4 separate regions of the Homo sapiens genome follow, and regions 1, 3 and 4 are each linked to region 2. The links are contacts of gene promoters, found by promoter capture Hi-C in blood cells and fetal thymus (Javierre and others, 2016). All regions are on one chromosome and are shown on one strand. Each heading gives the region's core, a stretch centred on a gene start or on the middle of the fragment in contact. The rest is flanking DNA. Distances are from core to core; before and after follow the strand shown. Region 1 overlaps HDGFL3 (HDGF like 3). Region 2 holds the start of FSD2 (fibronectin type III and SPRY domain containing 2). Region 3 overlaps TM6SF1 (transmembrane 6 superfamily member 1). Region 4 overlaps HDGFL3 (HDGF like 3).

The links. The method cuts DNA at HindIII sites, captures the fragments that hold promoters and counts their contacts. A CHiCAGO score of 5 or more calls a contact.
Region 1: a fragment that was not itself captured here is called in contact with the fragment with the promoter of FSD2 in region 2 in 1 of 17 cell types (neutrophils); the score reaches 5.3 in neutrophils.
Region 3: a contact is called between a fragment that was not itself captured here and the fragment with the promoter of FSD2 in region 2, in 1 of 17 cell types (neutrophils). The highest score is 6.0, in neutrophils.
Region 4: a fragment that was not itself captured here is called in contact with the fragment with the promoter of FSD2 in region 2 in 3 of 17 cell types (fetal thymus, megakaryocytes and erythroblasts); the score reaches 6.2 in fetal thymus.

What each region holds. Positions count from the first base shown.
Region 1 is chr15:83,152,817-83,159,346 of GRCh38, reverse strand. It overlaps HDGFL3 (HDGF like 3), which reads left to right. Exons shown (of 6, transcript NM_016073.4): 3 at 1,306-1,444; 4 at 1,774-1,932. Among named protein-coding and RNA genes, the nearest start is that of TM6SF1, 48 kb to the right of the region's middle. RefSeq lists an enhancer at 118-1,317. The HindIII fragment of the contact is 5,956 bases long and covers 1-4,579 here.
Region 2 is chr15:82,802,956-82,808,955 of GRCh38, reverse strand. FSD2 (fibronectin type III and SPRY domain containing 2) reads left to right here and starts at 2,887. Exons shown (of 13, transcript NM_001007122.4): 1 at 2,887-2,990. RefSeq lists an enhancer at 2,504-2,603. The HindIII fragment of the contact is 1,284 bases long and covers 2,270-3,553 here.
Region 3 is chr15:83,124,393-83,130,367 of GRCh38, reverse strand. It overlaps TM6SF1 (transmembrane 6 superfamily member 1), which reads right to left. Exons shown (of 10, transcript NM_023003.5): 7 at 5,592-5,696; 8 at 3,521-3,613; 9 at 2,891-3,010. It overlaps HDGFL3 (HDGF like 3), which reads left to right. Exons shown (of 6, transcript NM_016073.4): 6 at 1-2,615. Among named protein-coding and RNA genes, the nearest start is that of TM6SF1, 20 kb to the right of the region's middle. The HindIII fragment of the contact is 7,337 bases long and covers 141-5,975 here.
Region 4 is chr15:83,193,424-83,199,723 of GRCh38, reverse strand. All of the region lies in intron 1 of HDGFL3 (HDGF like 3), which reads left to right. Among named protein-coding and RNA genes, the nearest start is that of HDGFL3, 11 kb to the left of the region's middle. The HindIII fragment of the contact is 4,252 bases long and covers 1-3,437 here.

The DNA.
Region 1 (6,530 bases), core at 352-2,851, 350 kb before region 2:
TGTCAGCCAGAACTGTGGCCTAATGCTAAAGACTCTGATCTATTAGCCAGGCTCAGAATTTGTTCTAACTTCTTTTTTTTTCTTGGTTGTGATTAATTTAGGATGTGGTTTAAATTGGATAAAAGTCTATCTGCTTTGTCACTTCTAATTTTTTTCTTAGTGCCTCATTAAACACTAAAATGATTTTTTAATTTATAGAAATAATAGGCTGGGCACGGTGGCTTATGCCTGTAATCCCAACACTTTGGGAGGCCGAGGCAGGTGGATCACCTGAAGTCAGGAGTTCGAGACCAGCCTGACCAATGTGGCGAAACCCCGTCTCTACTAAAAATACAAAATTAGTCAGATGTGATGGAGCATGCCTGTAATCCCCTACTTGGAAGGCTGAGGCAGGAGAATCCCTTGAACCCGGGAGATGGAGGTTGCAGTAAACCGAGATCATACCATTGCACTCCAGCCTGGGCAACAAGAGCAAAACTCTATCTGAAAAAAAAAGAAAGAAATAATAGTGAATAAATATACTAACGTGGTACAGTAGTGCCCCCTTTATCTGTAGGGGATACATTCCAAGACCTCCAGTGGATGCCTAAAACCGTGGATAGTATGAAACCTATATATACTATGATTTTTCCATCTGATAACAGAGATAGCTATTAAGTAACTAGTGGGAAGGTAGTGCAAATATGATGGATATGCTGGACAAAGGGATGATTCATGTCCCAGGCAGGATGGAGTGGGTGTGAGATTTTATCACCTGTTCAGAGGGGTGTAATATTTAAAACCTATGAATTGTTCATTTTCCATTGGACCACAGTTGACCATGGGTAACTAAAACCACAGAAGGCAAAACCACAGTTAAGTGGGGAATTACTATATAGAGAGTTAAAATCTTTTTTTTATTCTAGCATTTATATTTTTACTGTGAATTTCACAAAACCCTTACCTGTGGTAAGATTAACATAGATAAATCTTAGTTTAAGATGATGATTTAAGTGGCCAAAGTAGACATATTTAATTCTACTTATGTAACTAAAAATCAGTTTTTAAATGAAGATATTGATAATTTAAAAGTAAAATCAAAGTAGCACAATCCAGGTGGCTGGCTTGTATGCTCAGCTATCCATTTTTTCTGCCTTGAAGTATGTGTCTGAAACACCTCGTAATATGTGCCTAACTTGAAGGGTTTATATGTACTTTAGATTTGTTTGCTATAGTATGCTCTGACATCTTCACTGATACTGATATTTAAAATATCTTACCTTTGAAGGTCAGTGTGTCAATTCTATTTCTAATATGTCTCTGCAGTGCATTTCTAGGTCCCAAAGACCTTTTTCCATATAAGGAGTACAAAGACAAGTTTGGAAAGTCAAACAAACGGAAAGGATTTAACGAAGGATTGTGGGAAATAGAAAATAACCCAGGAGTAAAGTTTACTGGCTACCAGGTAATGGTTTACTTCCTTGTCACTTGCTATATCTCATTTCTTTGGTTTTAACGCTTTTTCAAATCTTTCTTATATGTCCTTTCTACTAATAGTTACCTTGAAGTCACAATTCTTTTTGACTCCAGTAGCATTTTGGATTAAATGTAATTCTTAATCAGAAGGGTTCAAATCAAGTGTCCATTGGAAAATTCAGTTTGACAGCCCTTTGTTTTTGAAAATCTTCCGAGTAAGCGGAACCCTTTCAAATGAAAACAGAGTAGTTCTTTTCAGTGTTTGTTCTTTGCTATTTTTTCAAAAATGTAATCAGCTAATATTTTATTATTTCTTAGGCAATTCAGCAACAGAGCTCTTCAGAAACTGAGGGAGAAGGTGGAAATACTGCAGATGCAAGCAGTGAGGAAGAAGGTGATAGAGTAGAAGAAGATGGAAAAGGCAAAAGAAAGAATGAAAAAGCAGGCTCAAAACGGAAAAAGTCATATACTTCAAAGGTTACTAAGAAACTTCTCATTGTTATTAATGTTATATGCATATCCATTAAACATTTTTAGATTATTTTCCATGTGTTTATTGGGTACATAGAAATATACTAAATTCTATGGAGCCTCTGCCTTTAGGGACAAAATACAGCAGAGGGAAGTCAGGTAACCTTAGATATTAGAGCAATCTGACTATTGACTCTTTAGGGCTGATTTGGCCCTGAAAATACCACCTTTTTAGTTGGAGGAGGACTGACTGTTCTTTAGTTAAGGATATATGAGTAGCTTTGCCTCCTACAGTAACCTCCAGACGAGCTCTAAAGAATTGAGAAATGTAGGAAACACAATATAATTCAAGACTATGTCTATGTACTATATGTGTAAATGCATCACATGTAACTTAACTATGGGGTTCTAAGAAATGCATCATGGCTGGGCGCGGTGGCTCACACCTGTAATCTCAGCAGTTTGGGAGGCTGAGGCAGGCGGATCACAAGGTCAGGAGATCGAGACCATCATGACTAACATGGTGAAACCCCATCTCTACTAACAATGTAAAAGCAAAATTAGCTGGGCATGGTGGCGGGCGCCTGTAGTCCCAGCTACTCATGAGGCTGAGGTGGGAGAATGGCATGAACCCAGGAGGCGGAGCTTACAGTGAGCCAAAATCGTGCCACTGCACTCCAGCCTGGGTGACAGAGCGAGACTCCATCTCAAAAAAAAAAGAAATGCATCATTAGGCAATTTTGTCATTGTACAAACAACATAGAGTATACTTACACAAATGTAGGTGGTACAGCCTACCACACGTCAAGGCTTCGTATATGTGGTCTGTCACTGACCAAACATTACTATGTGACATGACTGTAAAAAGATATATTTTTACTTGTCATTCTGCTTCAAAGAATGTGCTTTGGCTGTTTATTTATTCAGTTCTTTTATTTCCTGATCACCTAGTCTATTCCAGACACCAGACTAGGTATACAGCGGTGAGCAACTCCATTCCTGCCTTCACATAAATTATAGTACAACAGAGAGTGGGGGTAGCACACAGTAATCACGTAAATAATAAATTGTGAAAGGGTGTGAAGGAATTGAATGGGAGCAGGGGGACCTAAAATAGGTCCCCTATTTTAGATAGGGTGGCCAGGGCTTTCTGAAAACGTGTAGTTTATGCTGAGACCTCAAAGAAGAGAGTAGGAGGAGAAGCCATATATGGCAGAGGGAAAGGAATGTAGCATCAAAGCTCTGAGGCAGGGAAGAGTTTAGCATGTTTTTCCTGTATTGAAAGAAGGTGTGGCTGGAGAATCATGACCAAGGGGGAAAGGCTGGCAAAGGCCTAATTATGCAGACTTGTAGGCCATAATGAGAAATTTGGATTTTATTCCAAATCTAACAATACTTGAAGATTTTAAACAGAGGAATGACATGATCCTAGATTTACAAATTGAAAGTCTAGGTTTTTTCATATGGTAATTCAGAAATACAATGGAAAGAACTCTGAGATTGTGAAAATTATTCACCTTTTAGAAACTGAAAGCAAGATAAATGGATCCTTGAAGACCAAAGATTGGTACAGGTTTCACTATAATTGGTCTGTCACATGATTGAATACCTGGATAAATTACTTCTATTTAAATTCTGGTGTTTAGTGACTGAATACACTTAGGAAACTCTAAAAACAAGTACCTAGAGTTTATTAGATTATCAGCATTTATTTTGGCAGTATATAAAATCTTACCCAACTGGCATACAGGCAGAATTGTGTGAATGCAGCATTGTTTCCTGTGTACCTAATGAAAAACATGTGATTGCCTTGGATGGGGATAAAGTTTGCAAATGACGACAAAGTAATTAGAATTTTTCTTGTCAGACTTTATCTTCCATTGTAATTACTTTTTTAAGCTGAATTTCTTTTAGCATTTTGGACTTCATTTAAACACCTACTTGAATTGATTTTACTTAATTTGTGATTGCCTGCTGAGCTTCCACCTAATGTGTTGTGCAACCCTAAATTATCTAAGCTACCTAATGTTGCCTAGGCATTTAATAGTGTGGATATGTGGCTTTTAAATGCCATTATTTTATTGCTTGTTACAAAGACCAAAAGTAATGGGGCTCCACCTGGGTGGACTTAAAATTTAAAGCAGAGAAAGGGTAAAGACACACTTAGCTTACTAATGTTTATCTATTTTAAATTAAGGGATCATTTCCTTTGCTTTCCTTGAAGATTACAACTTCATGATCATTTAATAGCCTTTTGGCTGGTCACAATGGCTCATACCTATAATCCCAACACTTTGAGTGGCTGAGACAAGTGGATCTCTTGAGCCCAGGAGTTTGAGACCAGCCTGGGCAACATAGTGAGACCTCATCTCCACAAATAATAAAATTAGCCAGGAGTGATTGCTCACACCTGTAGTCCAGCTACTTGGGAGGCTGAGGTGGAAGGATTGCATGAGCCCAGGAGTCCAGGCGAGTACTGAGCCATGATCATGCCACGGCCCTCCAGCCTGGGAAACAGAGTGAGACCCTGTCTCAAAAGGGGGGAAAAAAAAGAATAGCTTTTTATTTTTAATATCAATGAAATAACCTAGCATAATGGTTCTCAAACTGTTACATGTTTTAGAATTACATGGAAGACTTATAAAGACAAGCTTACATTGTTTGACAAGCTTGCCACATTGAATAGTTATACTGTATTTACTAGGAGAACAAAAAGTTTTTCACTTTTACTATCATTCTTGATCTTAACTGGAAACACTCCACATTTGTATCATTAAATCCCTGTTTTCCCTTCTTGTAAAAAGTAAAAATCACCACATTATAACATGACATTTTAGGTTTGGTTGGTAGTTTCAGTTAAGTAAAATAGAAACATTGTTGAACCCCATCCCCAGAATTTCTATTTCAGAAGGTCTAGGGTGGGGTCTAGGAATCAAATTTCCAGGTGAGGCTTATCCTGCTGATCTGGGAACCACATTTAGAGAACCGCTTGCCTAGCATAACTTCATTGTTCTCTTTTGCTTCCCAAATGCTTTTTAAAAAACAAATATGGTGATTTTTCCTTTTTTTTTTTTTTCTTTGTCTTGAGACAGGGTCTTGCTCTGTCACCCAGGCTGGTGTGCAGTGGTGCAATCTCAGCTCACTGCAACCTCTGCCCCCTGGGCTCAAGCTGCCCTCCCACCTCAGCCTCCCCAGTAGCTGGGACCACGGGCGTACATCACCACACGCTGCTTTTTTGCTTTTTTATTTTTGCTTTTTTTTTTTTTCCAGTAGAGACCGGATTTTATCATGTTGCCCAGGCTGGTCTCAAACTCCTGAGCTCAAACAGTCTGCCCGCCTCAACCTCCCAGAGTGCTGGGATTACAGGTGTGAGCCACTGTGCCCGGCCTGTTTTTATGTCTATTTCTTAAGAGTTGAATGGTCTTCCTTTGCATGGAAAATTAGTGGCTCACAAACTTTTTTTTACTACATTCCAGTTGGGTAGAGGAAAAGGCCCCACACCTGTCTCCTCTACCTCACCTAATTTCAGTTTTCTAAGGAAAACGCTCAGTAATCACAATGAAAAGTCATGCTATAGTAGATTTGAGGGAGATTATATGTCTTCTCTCTTTAGCAGTAAGGCTATGGATTATTCATATTTGAGTCATAGCAGATACTGGAAAATCATAGGTCAAAAATATTTTGCATACAAATTATTTACTATTTACAATAGGACTAATGAGAGCCTCACAACAAACTAAACTGATGTTGATAAACCACCAGTAATTTTAGTTTAAAAAAACAAAGATAGCAAAAATCAAACACATAACCAATTTAGGACCACACTGATAAAACTGAGTCCTTCTCCAAAATTACAGGAGTTTCAGTAATCTGAAAAGCTTTTCAAGATTACCAAATAGAGCTTGGCAACCAGATTTCTTCATAGAATACCAAATGTTGTGACTCATTAATAAAACACTAGTAATGCCCTAATTCTATTCTGTATATCCCAAATACATGCCAAATTGTAATACTTATAAACTAATTTATAAGGTTACTCATAAAGATCCTTTATGAGCATTAGAAATTTTAGGGAGTTGTTCATTATTATGAGAACTGCCAGGGGCCAGGCATGGTGGCTCACGCCTGTAATCCCAGCACTTTGGGAGGCCGAGGCGGGCAGATCATGAGGTCAGGAGATCGAGACCATCCTGGCTAACGAGACCATCCTGGCTAACACAGTGAAACCCCATCTCTACTAAAAATACAAAAAAGTTAGCCGGGCGTGGTGGCAGGTACCTATAGTCCCAGCTACTCGGGAGGCTAAGGCAGGAGAATGGCATGGTGTGAACCCAGGAGGCGGAGCTTGCAGTGAGCCGAGATAGCCCCACGGCACTCCAGCCTGGGCAACAGAGCGAGACTCCGTCTTAAAAAAAAAAAAAAAAAAAAAAGAACTGCGTATCGAGGACTGTTATTTGAAAATCACTATATAAAGCAGTTGCTACATTTTAATAATTATACTATAAAGAGAAAGTGTTTCACTTTTACTATTGTCATTCTTGATCGTCACTTGAAATACTCCACATTTGTATTATTAAATCCCTGTTTCCCTTCATGTAAAAAGT
Region 2 (6,000 bases), core at 1,638-4,137:
GCCCCCCTGGCTACGGAAGGCCTGTTTAAGGAGATATCAGGAAATCCAGTTTACGTGTCAGGGTGGAGCTAAATCTGTTCATGCAACAAGCACCAAGACGGCCCTAGTCTCTGCCTAGGAAATGTGCAGTGTAGACTGAGAAATACAGTCCATGTCAGCTCCCATCCTGGGAGTGCACTGAGACAGGTGGTGGGAATGGGAGGAGGAAAGGAGGGAGATGCCAGGAAGCTGGGATCAGGAGCCGTTTGCCAAAGCAAGGCCTGTGAGGTGTTGATTCGGGAACAAGTGAAAGTGTTTGTGAAGGTTTTGAGCTGGGAAAAGTTGGAATCAGATTTTGTACTTGCTGTTATCCCCAAGGGTAAACAATAAGCAAACGAAAAAATCAGGGCGAAGCTAAAGCTCTAGTTAGGGCATCTCTCTGCCTTGAAAATGACCTCAAGAAATCTAGGAACCTCTGTGGAATGCAACTTGAAGATGGAAAGGTGCCTTTGTCTGAAGGTCCCTCCCCTTTTATGCCTGCTGCCGGTGTGAGGGTTGGGGATTGGGCCCTGGGACTCAGTCACTCAGTCTTCTTGGAGAGATAAACTTTTAGCTGAAGTGATTGATTTTCCCCTATTTTAATATACTATTTTAACTAATATGAGTTACTTATGATTTTTAACAGTCTGTTTTAAATATCTTTCTTGTATATTCCTCACATTATATCTTTTTACTATCTGCTTTATACTGTGTTATTTCTGTTAGTTTTCTTATCTATTTGGTTTTTCAAGCGGAAACTGTCAATCTTTCTAATTATAAAATTGTCGTGGGTGGCTGGGTGCAGTGACTAACACCTGTAATCCCAGCACTTTTGGAGGCCGAGGTGGGCGGATCAGTTGAAGTCAGGAGTTCGAGACCAGCCTGGCCAAAATGGCCAAACCCCGTCTCTACTAAAAATACCAAAAAAAAAAAAAAAAAGAGAGAGAAAAAGAAAAGTTAGCCGGGCGTGGTGGTGCATGCCCTATAATCCCAACTACTCAGGAGGCTGAGGCATCAGAATTGCTTGAATCCAGGAGGCAGAGGTTACAGTGAGCCGAGATTGCACCACAGCATTCCAGCCTGGGCGAAACAGTGAGACTCTGCCTCAAAAAAAAAAGAAAAGAAAAAATAAAATTATCCTCTCTCTATATATTAATATATGTCTTAGTCCATTCAGGCTGCTATAACAGAATACCATTGAGTGGGTGGCTTGTAAACAACAAACATTTATTTCTCATGGTTCTGGAGGCTGGAAAGTCCAAGATTAAAGCACCAGCAGATTCAGTGTCTGGTAAGGAAGGGCTGCTTCTTGGTTCGTAGATACCTGTATTCTTACTGCATCTTCACATGGAAGAGCTCTCTGGGACCCCCAATGTAATGGCACTAATTTTATTCATGAGGGCTTGCCTTCATGACCTAATCACCTCCCAAAGGCCACATTTCCAAATACCATCACATTGGGGATTTGGTTTCAACATGGGAATTTTAGGGGAATATAAACTGTCTATAGCATATGTATATATATGTATGATGGTTAATTTTAATGTGTCAACTTGATTGGGTCACCAGGTGTTTAGTCAGACATTATTCTGGGTGTGTGTGTGTGATGGTGTTTCTGGATGAGATTAACCTTTGAGTTAGTAGACTGAGTAAAACTGGTTGCCCTCCCTCATGTGAGTGGGCCTCATCCAATCGATTGAAGGTCTGAATAGAACAAAAGCTTGAATAAGAGGGAATTCTTCCTGCCTAACTGCCTTCAAGTGGGAATATGGGTTTTTTTCCTGCCTTCCAACTCAAATGGAAACATTGGCTCTCCAGGGTCTTGAGCCTGCTGGCCTTTGGACTAGAACCACACCATTGGCTCTCCTGGATCTTCCGCTTACTAACTGCAGATCTTGGGACTTTTTGGTCTTCATAATTACATGAGTCAATTCCTTATGATAAATCTGTTTCCATATATGTATACATTCTATTGGTTCTGTTTCTCTGGACAACTCTGACTATTACACTGTGTGTGTGTGTGTGTGTGTGTGCGTGCGTGCATGTGAGAGAGAGAGAGGAGAGAGAGATTATACTGTTATGCTGGTCTGTGGGCTCAGCATCAAAGTAGGAATTTTGCAACACACCCACAGTTAACACTCACTTTTTTCCTCAACACCTAGACTCTTTCAACTTCTTAACAGAGTCAGAATTTTGGAAGAAAAGAACATTAACACTAAATTGTCATTTTATAAATTATTAAACTAAAGCTTAGAGAAATAGTCAATCATAGTCCATAAGGAATGTATTGGCTGGATAGTCCCATTTCTATGCCATACCATGGCAAGTAAAAAAAAAAAATAATAATGTTTGCTTAAGGCTTATATGGGAAGTGTGTCCTGTGCTTTGATTAGAAAAGTGCCCCCAAAATGTTTTTTAACCTTGTATGGTTCATGAGCACCTCTGAGAATCTATTGAAACCTGTGAGTTCTCTTCCCGGAAGTGATTCTATAAGGACACAGACATAATTTTGCATATAATTTTAGAAACTCATTCACTTAAAAAAAAAAAAAAGGAATCTTCTTCCTGGTCTTGCCGTGACAGTCCCCAGCCCTCTCCACATGACCAGCCATCTGAGACCCATGGTAGAGCCACAAGTCTAAAACCCCTCACAGCACAGAAAGTAACTCAGAGCACGGCATGTGACCTCTCCTGGTGACACTTGAGTAGTAAGAAGTGGCAACTCAGCCACAGCAGGTCTATATTTGGACCTTCACTCATGGCAGGCCTGTTGCTATTTGTGGCTGCAGCCAGCTCATGTTACCATCCAGCTTTGGTGCCCCACTTGCAGAACTCTGGTGTAAAATAGGCAGGGGTAGCCTGTGGGGCATGCAGAGGTCACTAGGAAGGAAAGCCTGCTGAACACAGATTCAATTTTCTAGCAGAACTCCAGGTCCTCTGAGTTAAAGGAAGCATTTATGGACGCTTAGCAGGCAAGTTTTGGGGTAGTCATATTCTTCCAATGCAAATTGTATTATTAGAAACTCAATGCTGCAATATTAATGCAATATCTTTCCTGTAGGTGGGAAGAGATATCATGGTAAATTGCAGATGTTTAAATTACAATAAATAGTGTAAATGTTTTCTGTGCCTTCTTAAAGCAAGAATTCGCATTAACTGAACATGATGTTGGGACAGGATGTGAGAGGCTCTGATGAAGGCAGACAGGGGCTGGTGATTCTTATAATGTGTCTTTAGGATATCTGTAGTGCTGGGACCCATTAGTTAGAACCATTTGGTAGAACAGTTTGGAAATATAGATGTTGAATATCATCTGGCTATACTATTGTGTTGTAAATACATTTTATTTAATCTGTGTGTACATGCTGAAAAATAATAACTTCATGCATTGATTCAAATACTAAAAAACAGCATCGTAATTATTTTTCACTTGTTATGCATACAGCCTCCTCCTATAGAAAGTTTTCAGGTTCGGGCAGTGTCTGCAAAGCTGATTTGAATCATTTCATATCACTGTAACACTTTAAGGCAAGCTTTCTTTCACTGCTGTGGCTCAGGAATTGCCAAGGGCTGCATGGAAGAGCTAAAATTATAGGCAAAGTTATGTTCCTGCCCTTATGGAATCACTTCTGGGAAGAGAATTCACAGGTTTCAGTAGATTCAGTAGATATGCCCATGATCCATAAAAGGTTAATAAACAAGCCAAGTGAGGTGGCAGATTGCATGAGCCCAGGAGTTCAAGACCAGTCTGGGCAACATAGCAAGAACCTGTCTCTAAAAAAAAAAAAAAAAAAAAATTATTGGGGGACTTTTCTAAGTAATGCACAGGGATACACCTCCCATATAAGCCTTAGACAAACATCTTTTTTATTTTTTTTAACTGCTTCCCTTGGCATAGAGGAAAGGGTATCCAGCAAAGACATTCATAATGGACTATGACTAATTGCTTTACTTCTCTAAGCTTTAGTTTCACCATTTATAAAATGACAGTTTATTGTCAACTTTCCTTTCTCCCCAAATCCTGATTTTGTTAAGAAAGAGTCTAGGTGTTGAGGGGAAAAGTGACTGTTAACTGTAGGGTGTGTTGCAAAATTCCTACTTTGACACTGAGCCAGTTTGTGTTGAGACCACTTTGTGTTGTGTGTTCGAAGGGCAAGTGCCAGCTTGAAAGCATGTGTTCTTATCTGTATTTGCACTAAGTGTTTTCCAGTCTTCTGACAGTTCAACTTGGTGTTTCACATTCCAGCTTCTGGTTGAAATAATTTCTCATGATGATTTATTGGTCATACAGAATCCTGGCTATTTCCCTTTGGGTAGCACATGGGAATGTAAGCATTATTTTAGTGAACTGCTCCTCTGTCTGTAGATGGTGTGATTTAATGGAAACCTGGGTTTGAATCCAAGCTCTTCACCTGACTGGTTGTGTGTCAGGTGAAAAGCTTGGATTCAAGCACAGGGCTAAATACAGAGTAGCCCAGATACATTTTTGTAAAAGAAAATTGGCTATAAGCAAGTCCTTTATCCTCACAAGATCTCAGTTTTGCCATCCTAAAATCAGGAATTTTTTTTAAACATCCATGACCTGCTGAATAAAATCAGGAAATTGAATTAGATGCTCTCCAAGGGACCTCCATCCCTAGAATACCATATCTCTGCCTGGGCCCCCTGGGAGAGGAATGATCTCATAGCTGATGTCTGTGCGTGGTTATGAGGCTGTTCTGCTTGGTGCCTTCTTTCATCATCGGCTGTTTTCAAGGGACAAATATTCCCACAGTAGCCATGGATGATTCCACACTGCTGTGGTCACTCTCCATGAGTGACTAGGTAGAAGGCTTCTAGCCCAGGTGGGAGATACTAAGGTAGGAATCATGATAATGATAGTAAGAACAACAACAATAACAGCAGCTAACACTTACTGAGGACTTACTTTAAGCTATGTACTATGCATAAAGTACATTATGTTATTTCATCTAAATGCCAACCTTATGAGGTAGACACTGTTAATAGAGCTGTTTTATAGTCCATTAAAGTTAGGCCTAGAGAGATGATTTTCCTGAAGTCATACTTCCAGGATGTGGCAGAAACAATGCAAACACAGGACTCTCTGAATCCAGAGGGCAGTGATCTTGGGGAGCAGGGAGAGGGGACAGGAAAAGGGATATTACTTAGAGATTCAAGAGGTAGAGTCAGAATCAGCATGAATTAGTTATTAATTAGATTGGGGGTGTCAAGGATGAGCTTCTGGTCTCTGGTTTGGTGCTGGAGGGGGTGGATGTCATGCTCTCATTCATGGATAGTAGCAATGCAGTGGACTTCATGGAGGGCCATGTTGGATGAGTATGGGGTTTAAGAAGCAGTGGTGAGATAGGGAAGAGTGGGAGCTCTCAGCAGGCAGGACAGTCTGAGCCAGGGCCTAGGGTGAGTCTCACATGGAAGACCCTGAGCGCGGCCAGAAGGAACAGAGGGTTACCGCTAGGGAAGGTGGGGCTGCTTGGGGAGTATAGAGCTATGGCATGGGGTGGGGGATCCCTGGTGCCCAGGAGAGTTGGGACTTGCCAGTAATGGAGCCCTCAGAATGCACGATGTGCAGATGTACCACTTCTGCCTGAACAAAGCAACATATGCTGTATAAGCTATGCTGCTATCCTGGGCAGGGACACCCCTGAGGAAGGACCATGGTGCGCGCAGTCAGCAGACTGTAGAGACAGGAGGGTTTCAAGCAAGATTTCGAGCCACAGAGGGAAATAGTGGGATTTTGGCACAGACTCTGTGCTTTAGGAAGGAGAAGTACTCTGGGGTCCCAGGAAAGAGGGAAAGCAGCGTCTCTGAGAAGTTGTGCATAGCCCCAGATGGGGTAATAATCCCTTAGTCACTTGTCTGGAGCCTCCTTGACACCAGCAACTGTGTCTCATCCATTGTACCCCCAGCGCCTAGCCCAATCCTGTTCTCTTGAATTCACACCTCACCAACCCCATGAACATT
Region 3 (5,975 bases), core at 2,560-5,059, 320 kb before region 2:
CACACTGCCCTTCTCAGAACCACTTGGCTGGAGTAATAAGTGCCCACCTGCAAGCTTAGCTTCACCAACAGATTAGGGTTTGTCTTATTGCTACAGGCTTACCACACCCATTTTCCTCTAAGCTATGACCTTCCTAAGCTTCCTGACTGTTGACCCTGGCCATGTGACTAGGCTTTTGCCTAGGTTTTCCTGCTGTTTCCATTTGTCTCCTGAGACTTGACCAGGTCCAACATCTGGTCTCTTTAACCAGCCTGCTGGCTGATGACACTTAGCATTCCTGCATCAGGGACTGGTACCAGGCCGACCAGGCACATGGCAGGCAGAGGAGGCCTGATTGTGCAGGCAAAGCACAATTGACACAGGTAATAGGTGTCAAACTGAACAGCTGTCAAACTGAACAGTCTAATCCTCTAAAGAAAGGGCTGGCAAGAGTGAAGTGGGTATGCGGCCATCTGTTCTGAAGGATACAGGAGAATAAGGCAGAGGAACCAGGCCAAAAAAAAAGGCAAGGCTTACTCTGCCCTCAGACCTGCTGCATATGCCCACACCTCAGTGTTTCCCTGGGTTATTCCCTGGAGAGGCTCAGCCTAATAAAGCCCCACTTGGCCCTCAGAGTCCAACTCGGAATGTCACTGCCTTCCACCCACAAGGTTCTCCAGCACCTCGTACTACATACAGTCTTTTGTGCTGTAGGACTCTGTGCCATAGTTCATTGTTTGCATGGGGTGGGTGAGATAACACAATGGAGAAGAATATGAGCTTTGGAGTCAGACAGGATTTCATAAACCTATTCTGCCATTTAATAACTGTAATCTTAGGCAAATAATTTCAGGTGGACTGAGCCTCAGCCTCCTCATCTTTAAATTGGGGTTTTTTTCCCAGAGCTATTACAAAAGATATTATTATGTGTCCATTGTGCTGTTTATTCTGAGGCAGGCAGGAAGACCACAGTCACCAGCCTCCCCTCAGTTGACCTGGTGCCAGGCCTGGACCTTGAAAATATCCCACATGATCTTTGCATAAAAAAGAATTAAAATTTTAATTGTGTTAAGCTACTCTGAGTATTTGTTACAGCAGCAGAGCACATAGCCTATCCTTAGACAAATAGGTAAGTAAAACTTTTAACGTGGTTTGCCTGGCATGAAGTAAGGTAATGAGAGCTCAGACTAGTGTAGGGGCAGCGGAGCTGGAAAAAAAAAATGGGTTGGAGAATCACTGGAGTAAAACTAACTGGACCTGGTTGGGTGTGGTGGCTCACACCTGTAATCCTACCACTTTGGGAGGCTGAGGCAGGAGGATTACTTGAAGCAGGCATTTGAGAATAAGCTGGGCAACAAAATAAGATCCCATCTCTTTAAAAAATTTAAAAATTAGCTGTGTGCGGTGGTGTATGTCTGTAGTCCCAGCTACTCTGGAGACAGAGGCAGGAGGATTGCTTGAGCCTAGGAGTCCGAGGCTGCGGTGAGCTATGACTGTGCCATCACACTCCAGCCTGGGAGATGGAGCAAGACCCTGTCTCTTTAAAAGAAAAAAAAAAGGACTTAGTGGTGGTCTAGATGTAGAGGATGAGGAGTGTAAATAATTACTCCAAGTTTCTGGCTTGAGTTGCTGGATGCAATTGGACTATTTAAACAGATAATGAAAAAATGGAAGAGAGGTTGTGGGGAGGATCAGGTCCTATTTTATATATTAAATCTGAGGTGCTAGTGAGGCATGCAAGTAAAAAGACTGAGTTTGGAATGAAATACAGGAGTCTGGGAACGGTGTGGGCCGAAGGTAGAAAACTGGAAGTTATCAGCTTATAGTTGGTATTGAAAGATACAAAGATAAAGACCTAAAATACAGAAATAAACCCCAAGGACTGAGGAATCAGGTATTTAGAGGTCTGCAAAGGAAAAACAACCAGCAAAGAGCAATAAATGTTAGTTCTCTTCCTTCTTAAGCCCCTCAAGGAAAGGACAGGAACCATTACTTCTGGATGCTACATCAACTTTTTCGATACTACTATGCTAATTTTATAATTAAGAATTACCTCAAACTGAAAGGATTTAATGCATTGACCCCTTAAATACTATATTTTTCAACCGTGTGAATTCTAGTATGTCTTACGATCATGATTATTATACCATGCATATAATTGACTGTACAAGCCTACAGTTTCTAGATGAACCTCATTCTTATAACTGCTTGAAAAGAACAAGATGAAGCTAATGTTTTTAAATGATAAGTTCATTTGTTTTATTTCTAGTAAGAAAAATTAATTTTCTTCCTTGTTCAGAAGATTGATTTGTTTTGCTAATTATCTTGTAAAAATGTGCTTTATGTTATGTGTGAAGTTCTCCATAGATAATTTCATTTTCAGTTAAACGCAGTAAGCATTCACTGAACACCTACTCTAGGCCAAATATTTGGCAAGGTGCCAGCGGAAAAGGAATGAAATGACAGGCCCAGAACATTTTTTAAACCAGTTTCCCTGGTTCTGTATAGCATAGCGTAGTGGAATTCTGAAGTCTTAAATTTGGATGGACATTTTGAAGGTGACAGCTCTCAATCCTTTTTTAGTAGCCATGGTATTCAGAGATTGTGAAACAGTCCAATAAAACAACAATGCCACATGCTGGGTGTGTAACCTTGGGCAAATCATTTAACTTCACTGGACCACAGATAACTTCCTCATCTGTGTAACTGGATGGCACATCTACCATATAGTTATTGTGAGATTGAAATAAAATGTACTTGCAGAAATGTCTTCTGAAGAACTGCAAAACAAAAGGTGACATGTCTAATAGCTATCTCCTAGTCTAAAACACTGAGCAGAGAAGTTTTTCATATATTCAACAATTGACACCTAGACCACAAGTAAACCTTCTCAACAGAATATTCTTAGTACCTGAGCCAGACCTCCAGCATGTATCAATGTGATGTCAGGCATCCAGGAACATCCAGGAACCACTAAGCCATACAGTGCAGTCACAAAGTAAGGAACAGAATAGAACATATATGCCAGCATCTGTATTGAACAGAGAAATAACATCATCAGCAAATTGGCAGTTAACTTGGCCTGACTAAAAAGTACAAAAAAGTAAACATTTTCATCTTTGAAAATATTAATTCCTATTTCCTATATGGGACTCTTTTTTTTTTTTTACTTTTATTTTTATTTATTTATTTTTTTAGGTGGAGTCTCACTCTGTCACTCAGGCTGGAGTGCAGTGGCGCAATCTCGGCTCACTGCAACCTCCACCTCCCGGGTTCAAGCAATTCTCCTGCCTCAGCCTCCTGAGTAGCTGGGATTACAGGCATGTGCCACCATGCCCGGCTAGTTTTTTGTATTTTTTCAGTAGAGATGGGGTTTCACCATGCTGGCCAGGCTGGTTTCAAACTCCTGACCTCGTGATCAACCTGCCTCGGCCTCCCAAAGTGCTGGGATTACAGGCGTGAGCCACCGCACCCAGCTGGGACCCATTTTTTAAAAAGAAAATTAATTTTAGAAAAATCTTAGGCTTCATAACTACTTGACCTGAATTTTAGGATAAGCAGCAGGATCCTTTAGATAGGGCTCTTGAAATTGCGTATATAATCGGCAGAGCTCAGATGGGCAATCCAAAGCAATCTAAGGACAAAAATAAACTCATTATAAAAATACAATCACATCTGGTTCTTAGGTTTGCTGATAAGGCTAAATGTGCCAGGTTTAGTCACAAGCTGCTTTGCTGTTTAACAAAACGTATGCATTGTAGAGGCTCATCAATGATGGAAATATTTTGCAGATTTGTTCTAAGGAGACTAAGCAAAGGTTAATTATGGTGCAGGAAATGGAAACTAATGCCCTATTCTTGGGTATTTTTCAGATATTCAGAGTTTAAGTATCTAGGTTTGGCTAGCCAAAGCACAGCTTGCTTTAAATTATGAGTTTCACTTTTCTTGGAAATAACTAGCCCCCTATTCCCTACAGGAAGAAAAGTATATTTCTACACCAAATTCATCTTACTATGCATTGCAAGATTTGAAAATAGCACCTTCCTGTCTCCAGTGCATCATAGCGTATATGGCCTTTGGAGGCAGTAAAAGATGATTTGAAAGCAGGGTCCTCTTGCTGGAAAGTCTTTTTGGCACTTTACTAGGTCCCCTCTGAGTCACCTTCCTCCCCTCAGGCACCATTCCTCATGTCTTTGGCCATAAATGTTGTCCCACCTAGATGGCATATATGAACACAGGCCAATGACAGAGTTGGTAAAAATGGCCCCAATCCAAAAGCCCTACCCACCTTGCATGCACCCCCACACATGCACACATTTTTCTCGTGCACAGGGAAGGGGATATGGCCGTGCAAGAATACAGGTGGGGCCCACTATTTTTTGTTGTTTGAACTTTAAGAATTACAACAAACTAACCAAAGAACAGTTTCAGTGGCCCTGTGGTCTAAGCAAAGCTATGGCCTTGCCTTCTTTACTTCTCTTCCCCATGCCCCTCCTCCTGTTAGCCAGCTCTCCTCCAGAAAGTTTCTTGACATTTCACAGATAAAGATAACTCTTAAAACAGCTTCTCACCCTGAACCCAGCCTGCTGCACAGGCCCCCAGTAGCCCAAGACCCTGAAATGATAAAAGTCACCTGCATGGGCTTACACTTGCCACTCTACTGTCCAACTGTTACGCGCGCCAACAGGCTTCGAATAGAAATTGTCACTGAAGCTGAATATAATTAACAATATAATTCTAAACTTCCCAAATTCATTTCTACTAAGAAGAAATCATCAAATTGGGGCATTGTGAAGGATCACTGATCAATAAAAATCCTAACAGTAATCATTTACTATGTATAAGAGCCTCTACCAAGTGTTTGATGTACATTATTTAATCTCCAAAACAATACTGTTAAGGTAGGTAGTGTTATTTTACAGAGAGGAAAACAGAGTCCAAGAGGTTAAGTAGTTTTTCCAAGGCCACACAGCTAGTAAGTGGCCAGGATTCTAACTACAAAGCCTGTGAGTCTTTTTCCTAACCTCTGCAGTAAAATATTAATAAAGAGAAAATAGAAAACATGAAATGCCCATGTGCCCTTAATGTATTTCAGTCACATCAATACAAAGACTCCAGGCGTGAGATGAATTTACTCAACACTACTCTTACCAGTGAGACATTCCCATGACCCTACATACACGTGAATTGTTGAACTGGTACGCCTTCCTCAACCCCATTGCCCCTACTCCTGAGAACACAGGGATGCTCTGTGCCACAGTTGTGTTGCAGTCCTAGGGTGCCATCCTTACCAAAGATATTTACATTTAAATCAGAAACATCAAAAGAATAAAAAAGAGAGACTCTGATGGCTGATTTTTTAGATGCCCTAAAACGGGGAGGAAGATGCTTCTGAGTAGAGCTTGATCTAAGGACAGGAGGAGGTGACAGCAGGAGGCTGGGGTTGGGAGCAGCAGGAAGCAGGTCCAGGGCTCCAGGCTTTGATGGGAGGAATGGTTTGTTAGTTTGCTAAGAAGTCTGATGGAAAAACAAAAACATATTTCTAAGTTTTTTTCCATTTGGAAATGTGAGTAGTATCACAATGTTACGTTATTATGATCTGTTATGCTTACCAAACCTCTGAACAGGCAAAATCCAGTTGCCAGGAGGAGACACACAACCAACATTAAATCAAATGGTCTTCTCAGCAGGTCTTTCGCTTGGGCTTCTTGAATAACCTAAAATAGAGTTTGTACCTAAAGAGCAGGCCCAAAGTGCCAAAGAAGAATCTGAAATCTGAAACATTAAATGTCATGATGATGGATAAGAGAATTTTGAAGATGCACAATTTATATCATAAATCACTGGCCATGGAACTTTAGGAAAATCATTTCCTTCCTCAAGTCTCAATTTCCTTATCTGTGAAATGAAGAATTTGGGCTAAATGATCTCTCGAAGGGCTCTTGTAGCTCTATGAGTCCACTTTTTTTCTTGAAATGACATTTTAATGATAATAA
Region 4 (6,300 bases), core at 62-2,561, 390 kb before region 2:
GGATTTGGGGACAAGATAAACTGGACCACATTAACATACAAAAAGGGTCTAAGAATAAACTATTCTTCTCATTTGATCATTGAAACTCATATTCTGAATAGATTCTCTAAGTCTGAATATAGAGTCTATACAGCTACCCAGAAGTAGAGGTGTCAGTGTAGGGGAGTCAGTGGTAGCTGCCAGGTTGCCTGTATGGGGACTGGAAAATTTCTGATCACATAGTAATAACTTCTCAGTTTCTATTGCAAAATACGAGATGAGAGTGGTTTTAAGTGATAGTTTCAGTAGTGGTTAGCACATATAAAAATGAGTTTCACAGAAGATTAAGGATTTTTTATGATGTAGACAGGTCAGAAAATAAACTCAACTTCAGATCTCTATTTCCTTTTCCTTTGACACTGAAGTAGTACTTTATTATTAATAACATGTTTGATCTTGGAGGAAATGCTTGTTCAGAGGGAGTAGTAGTATAAATTCTCAGTTAATGCTTTTAGAGTTACCATATGTTGAATGGATTGAAAATTCCCTCTAGACCACTATTTGATGTTCCAAATGAAACCAACTAATTTAAAACAAGTTATAACTTCTCTTATCTCCTTCCCTGGACTACTACATGATGATGAAGTCAATAATTTTGAAAAAAATATTTAGACTTTGGAAATGAGTTGTTGTTGCTGATTGATTGCAGTCTAACGGCTTTCAGGTTTTTTGACTGTAACCTACAGTGAGAAATAAATATTAATTCCCATCCCAGTACGTGCACATGCATGCACACACACACTGCTGAGATTTTTATATGATCCGTTTGTCCCCTCCAAAACTCATGTTGAAATTTTATCCCCAGTGTGGTGGTGTTGGGAGGTGGGTTCTAGCGAGAGGTGTTTGGGTACTGTTGCTGGTCCTGTGGTAGTGAGTTCTCCCTCTCTGGAGACTAGATTAGTTCTCTGAGAATAGATTAGTTCTTGCAAGAGTGAGTTATAAAGCAAGTTTCTTCCTCCTGTTTGGTTGCTTTTCACGTGTCCACTTTCCCTTTGACCTTCTTTGCCATGTTTTGAGTTAGCACGTGGCCCTTACCAGAAGCTGAGCAGATGCTGGTACCATGCTTATACTTTCCAGCCTGCAGAACCATGAGCTAAATAAAGCCTGTTTTCTTTATAAATTACCCAGCCTCATTTATTCTGTTACAGCAACCCAAAATGGACTAAGATGCACCTATAACAAAAAAATTTTCAAGTTGTACTTACTATATGTGATACATTCTGATATTTTTATATTTCATTTTATGTAAAGTCAGGTTGCAACCTGCTAAATGAGTTTCATTACCTACAGTTTGAAAAACACTGGTCTGGTCAGTAGGCCAAAGGGAAAGTAATCTCTGTGAGTTGTATGCGTTTATATAGAACAGAAGTTGGATTTTTGAGAGGATGATTTGTTAACAGTCCTGAGCTTTTTATTCTGCTGTAGCCACAGTCTTACATGAAGGTCACACGAACATAAATTAAAGCAATAGTGTATTAGGTCATTGAACTATCCAGGCCAATATGTCCCCTGATCCCAAAAGGTTAGTTATATAGATTTTAATTCTCATCTTCCTTTTAATCTTTCAACTGCAAATGTATCAACAACTATATATATAATTAATTGGCTTCTTTTTTTTTTTTTTTTTTTTGAGACGGAGTCTCTCTCTGTCACCCCAGGCTGGAGTGCAGTAGTGTGTTCTTGGCTCACTGCAAGCTCTACCACCCTCCTCATCACCCCCTCCCCGCCGCCCCCAGGTTCTCCTGCCTCAGCCTCCCAATTAGCTGGGATTACAGGCGCACACCACCACACCCGGCTAATTTTTTAGATGTTTAGTAGAGATGGGGTTTTGCCATGTTGGGCAGGCTGGTCTCGAACTCCCAAAGTGCTGGGATTACAGGCGTGAGCCACCGTGCCCGGCCTATAATTGACTTCTTAAAGGTAGTAAGTTCCACACGTTTGCTGACTACCGAGTTATATACAGTGTTTGACAAACTAGTGTTCCGTGGCTGATGATATTGAGGCTGTGGAGTTTTCCTGGTTTGTGGGACTAGACTGTGGAGGTATCAAGCTATGACTGAAGATGATGAGCTTTTGTGAAGTTCAGAAACTTGAAGATAGGGCAGGTTTGTGGTACCCTTTAAAGTGGATGTAAAGTTTTTGCGATTAACATGTTTCTAATGGTTTTGTATTTCCTTTTTAATTATTTTGTCCTATCAAAAAGAGATTGCCTTGCTACTGTGAGATATAGCAATCTGAGTAGAGAGAACCTGGTATTGATGATAGGAAGGCATTCTTCAATTTTTTAAAAGAAACATTTCTGAAAAGTTACTGTAAGCACAGTTTTATGTCTTACATCTGGCTCACTGACTCACATAAAATATGTAAAATGTTATTAGAAACAGACCCACTATACTATTATAAATGGAAATATTTTGAAGTAAAAGAAATAAGATTAGATTAAATTTTATGATATGCCAGGTGTTCAAGAACTCTGGCTGTTCTCCAGCTCAGCACTGACCCTATCTTATGCTATGTGTGATGTCAGGGGAAGGACAAAGCCTTTGGTAGAGTTATGAAATATCATGGTCTCCATTCTTCGTTTTGAGTACACTCCTGGGATAAAGATTTATTTAACTACAAAGGATCAGGTAACCCAGAACAAATGTGTCCCTTATTTTTATATTGTAAAAGCAAATGACAAAAGTAGTGCAGCTTAACAAGAGTGGGCATGCCCTAGGTCAGCTCCTTGTACATCTTCCTCAGATGTTAGTAGATACATTTACTATTCTCTTCCAGCCTTTCCCCCTCATTTTCAGCAAATTGTTTTACCTTCATACTTCATAGAGAAAATAGATGCCAACAGGCTTTAACTGCACCTTCCTATCTTTTGCTTATAAATGAAAATCATCTCTCTCTAACCTTCTCTAATCCTCTTGGATTTTTGTTTCCCCCTTTTTTGTTAATCAATTCTATTTTTTTCTCTAAATCATTAATTTCTGATCTCATCTTCACTACCTTTCCCCAAGTATATTTTTCTTTTCTTCTATTTCAAACTTAATGAAATAAAGTCTTATTTAATTTTTTTGAAATCTTTTTGAAAATGAAAACTTTTAAAGCTAGTTTTCCTCAGGTCATATTTGGCTTCATGATGTAGATTTGAATAATTGGTGTTTTATAGTCATTTTCAAAATAGGTTTTGTGATTTTCATTTCTGAGTTGGCCCAAGAGATATTTAGGAGAGAATTTTAGGAATTATAACTGGCTAAAGAGTTTGTATGTAATGCTTTATTGTTTTTTAATATGGTTATCTTGTAGTCAGATTATGTATCCTTTTTAACTATTTTAATTCATTTAGTGTTCTTTTCATATGTGATCAACTTTTAAAAAATGGTTTTTGTATTCCTGAAAAGAAAGCTTCTTTAGGAGTCAATAAGTATATTGACTTAATAAATGAGTCAATAAGTATATTGACTTAATAAATAAGTCAATAAATATAATGGACAAATATAAATATATTGATATTTACTAATATATTTTTTAAAATTCTTAATGTTTATTTTTTGTCAACTACTCTCTCCAAAATGAAGAGGTATATAAATCTAACATATCTATTATATTTCTACATATCTGTCCCTTTTTTTGACCGTTTATTTAATAAATGTCAGGGCTTTATTTGGCACATAAATGTGTATAACTTGTAACTTCAGGATGGAGTCAAAATATAGTGATCTGCTATTTCATACTTTCTAGCACATAAGTTATAGTACTTCGTTGGATATTAGTTTTGTAACCTGTTTTCATTTTTGCTTTTATTTCACTAATACATCTTTATCCAGAATTTTACTCAAAACTTTTCTGTTTTGTTTTAAGATATAAGTATATGTAACTTAATTTTTTTAACCATTCCTAGGAGATTTTTTTCCCTTTTTTCATTCTTTGCCAAATTTTGTAAGAACCTGGTTTTCAGCATTTAAGCATATAACATTCTTAATTTCTGTCATTGAAACTTTTACTTTTTAAATTTTCAGTTATTTCCATGTGAAGGTAGAACTACGTGAATTGGGTAACATTAATGTTCTACCATTATAATCTCATTAGGTGTTTATTGAGTATCTCTTCTGGGTTAGTAACTGTGATAGACTTAGCATTATAAAAATTAATAAGACATGATTTTAACATTAAAGAGCTTGAGATAGATTAAGGAACAGAAACATGTACATAGAGGAATACAAGTGCAATATATGTAGATCTCGATGACAATATTTTTCTTTTATTTTTTTAAAAAGACACATTTATTCAGTATCATGATCAGACTATTACATTTAGCAATCAACAGCATGGGTGCAAAAAAAAATCTACATTAAAAAACCTTTGTTGGAATGTTTTACACTTTCCACATAACAGAAACTAAAATAACCTGTTATACAATTAGTCACAAATACAATCCTCAAGTTTTTTGCCCAATATTTGTCTGAAACATGATGACAGGATTTTTCTATCTTTGCAATTAGACTAAATGAACAAGAATGAGCCAAAACTGACTAAGAAAGAGCGTGGAAAAGAGAATACATGGAGACATTTTTAATTGGCAATTTATTACAAAAAGACTGGGTTTCAGCTTTTTTTGTCATACGATATTGAAATGTAGTTTTTGGAACTGTCTACATTATTTGTAATACAACTATATAGTCTTACCATTAGAAAGAGATAACACTGCATCCTGAGTGAGCCCTCCTTTACATTTTGTTCTATTGCTTTTTCCTTCCCTGCAGGCAATTTCAAAGTCTTTAATGAAAATTTAAATGATAGTACCTTCTGAGACATAAGATTTAAGATGATTTTCAGTGTTGTTTTCGAAGGGATGAGAAAGCTAAAATGCATTAATCTCTTTTACCAACTGACTTGCTCAGTTACAGAGCAAGTAAGTGGAAGGGAGCTGCACTAAAATTCATTGCCGTCTGCACCCATCTCCATAGGATGCCAGGAGGAAGTGAAAGGAGATAAGGAATTCACACTAACCACTTTGACAATTAGGCAGAAACCCTGAATTTATTTTAGGTAAAGAAAAGGTGAAAACCAGACTTGGAATAAGCTTTTTATGTGCTCATTGTAATTAAAAAAAAATTTTAATTGTAAAAATACATAGAATGTAATTTATACCATCTTAATAATCATTTTAAGTGTATAGTTTATGTAATATTAAGTACATTGTTTTGTAACCATCACCACTCTCTATCTCCAGAACTCTTTTCATCTTGCAAAACAAACTATACCCATTAAAAAATAACTCTACATTCCCTGCCTCCTAGTCCCTGGCAATCACCTCTCCACTTTGTGTCTCTATGAGTGGGCTACTCTGGGTACCTCATACAGATGGAATTATACGGTATGTGTTTTTTTGTGACTGGCTTATTTCACTTAGCATAATATCCTTGAGGCTCATGTATGTCCAAATTTTCTTCCTTTTTGAGACTGAATAACATCCCATTGTGTATATGTAAAACATTTTGTTTATTCATCCACTGATGGATACCTGAGTTTTTTTCACCTTTTGGTTATTGTGAATGATGCTGTTATGAACATGAATGTACAACTATCTCTTAAAGACCCTACATTCTGTTCTTTGGAGTAGGTAGCCAGAAGTTGAATTCCTTGTTCATATTGATGCAGGACAGGTGAGCCCCCAAATTGGGGCTTAGCTTGGGAGGGTTCTTGGCTTTGCCCAGGAAAGAATTCATGGGTGGGGTGGTGGTGGTGTGAGTCAGCAACTCTTATTAACGTGGCAGCGTATAGCAGCAGCAGCACAGGTACTGCCCCATGCAGAGTGCAGCTACACTATAGGCTACCCTGTAGGCAGTGTACCCAGAGTAGCAGTTCAGGGGCAGTTCTGCAGTCATGTTTATATCCACTTTTAATTACATGGAAATTAAGGGACAGATTATGCAGAAATTCCTAGAAAAAGGATTGTAACTTCTGGGTCATTGTGTCCTTGCCATGGAAAGGGGCAATAACTTCCAGATGTTGTGCTGGCAACGGTAAATTGACATGGCACTGGTAGGTGTGTCCTACGGAGAGTTGCTTTCATATTTTTCCTGTTTCTGCTAGTCTTCAATCTGGTCCAGGGTCTAAGCCCTGCCTTCTACTTCAATATGGTAATTGTATTTGTAATATTTTGAGGAAACACCGTACTGTTTTCCATAGGGACTGCACCATTTTACATTCTCACCAACAATGCACAAGGGTTCCAATTTCTTTACTTCCTCGCCGATGCTTATTTTC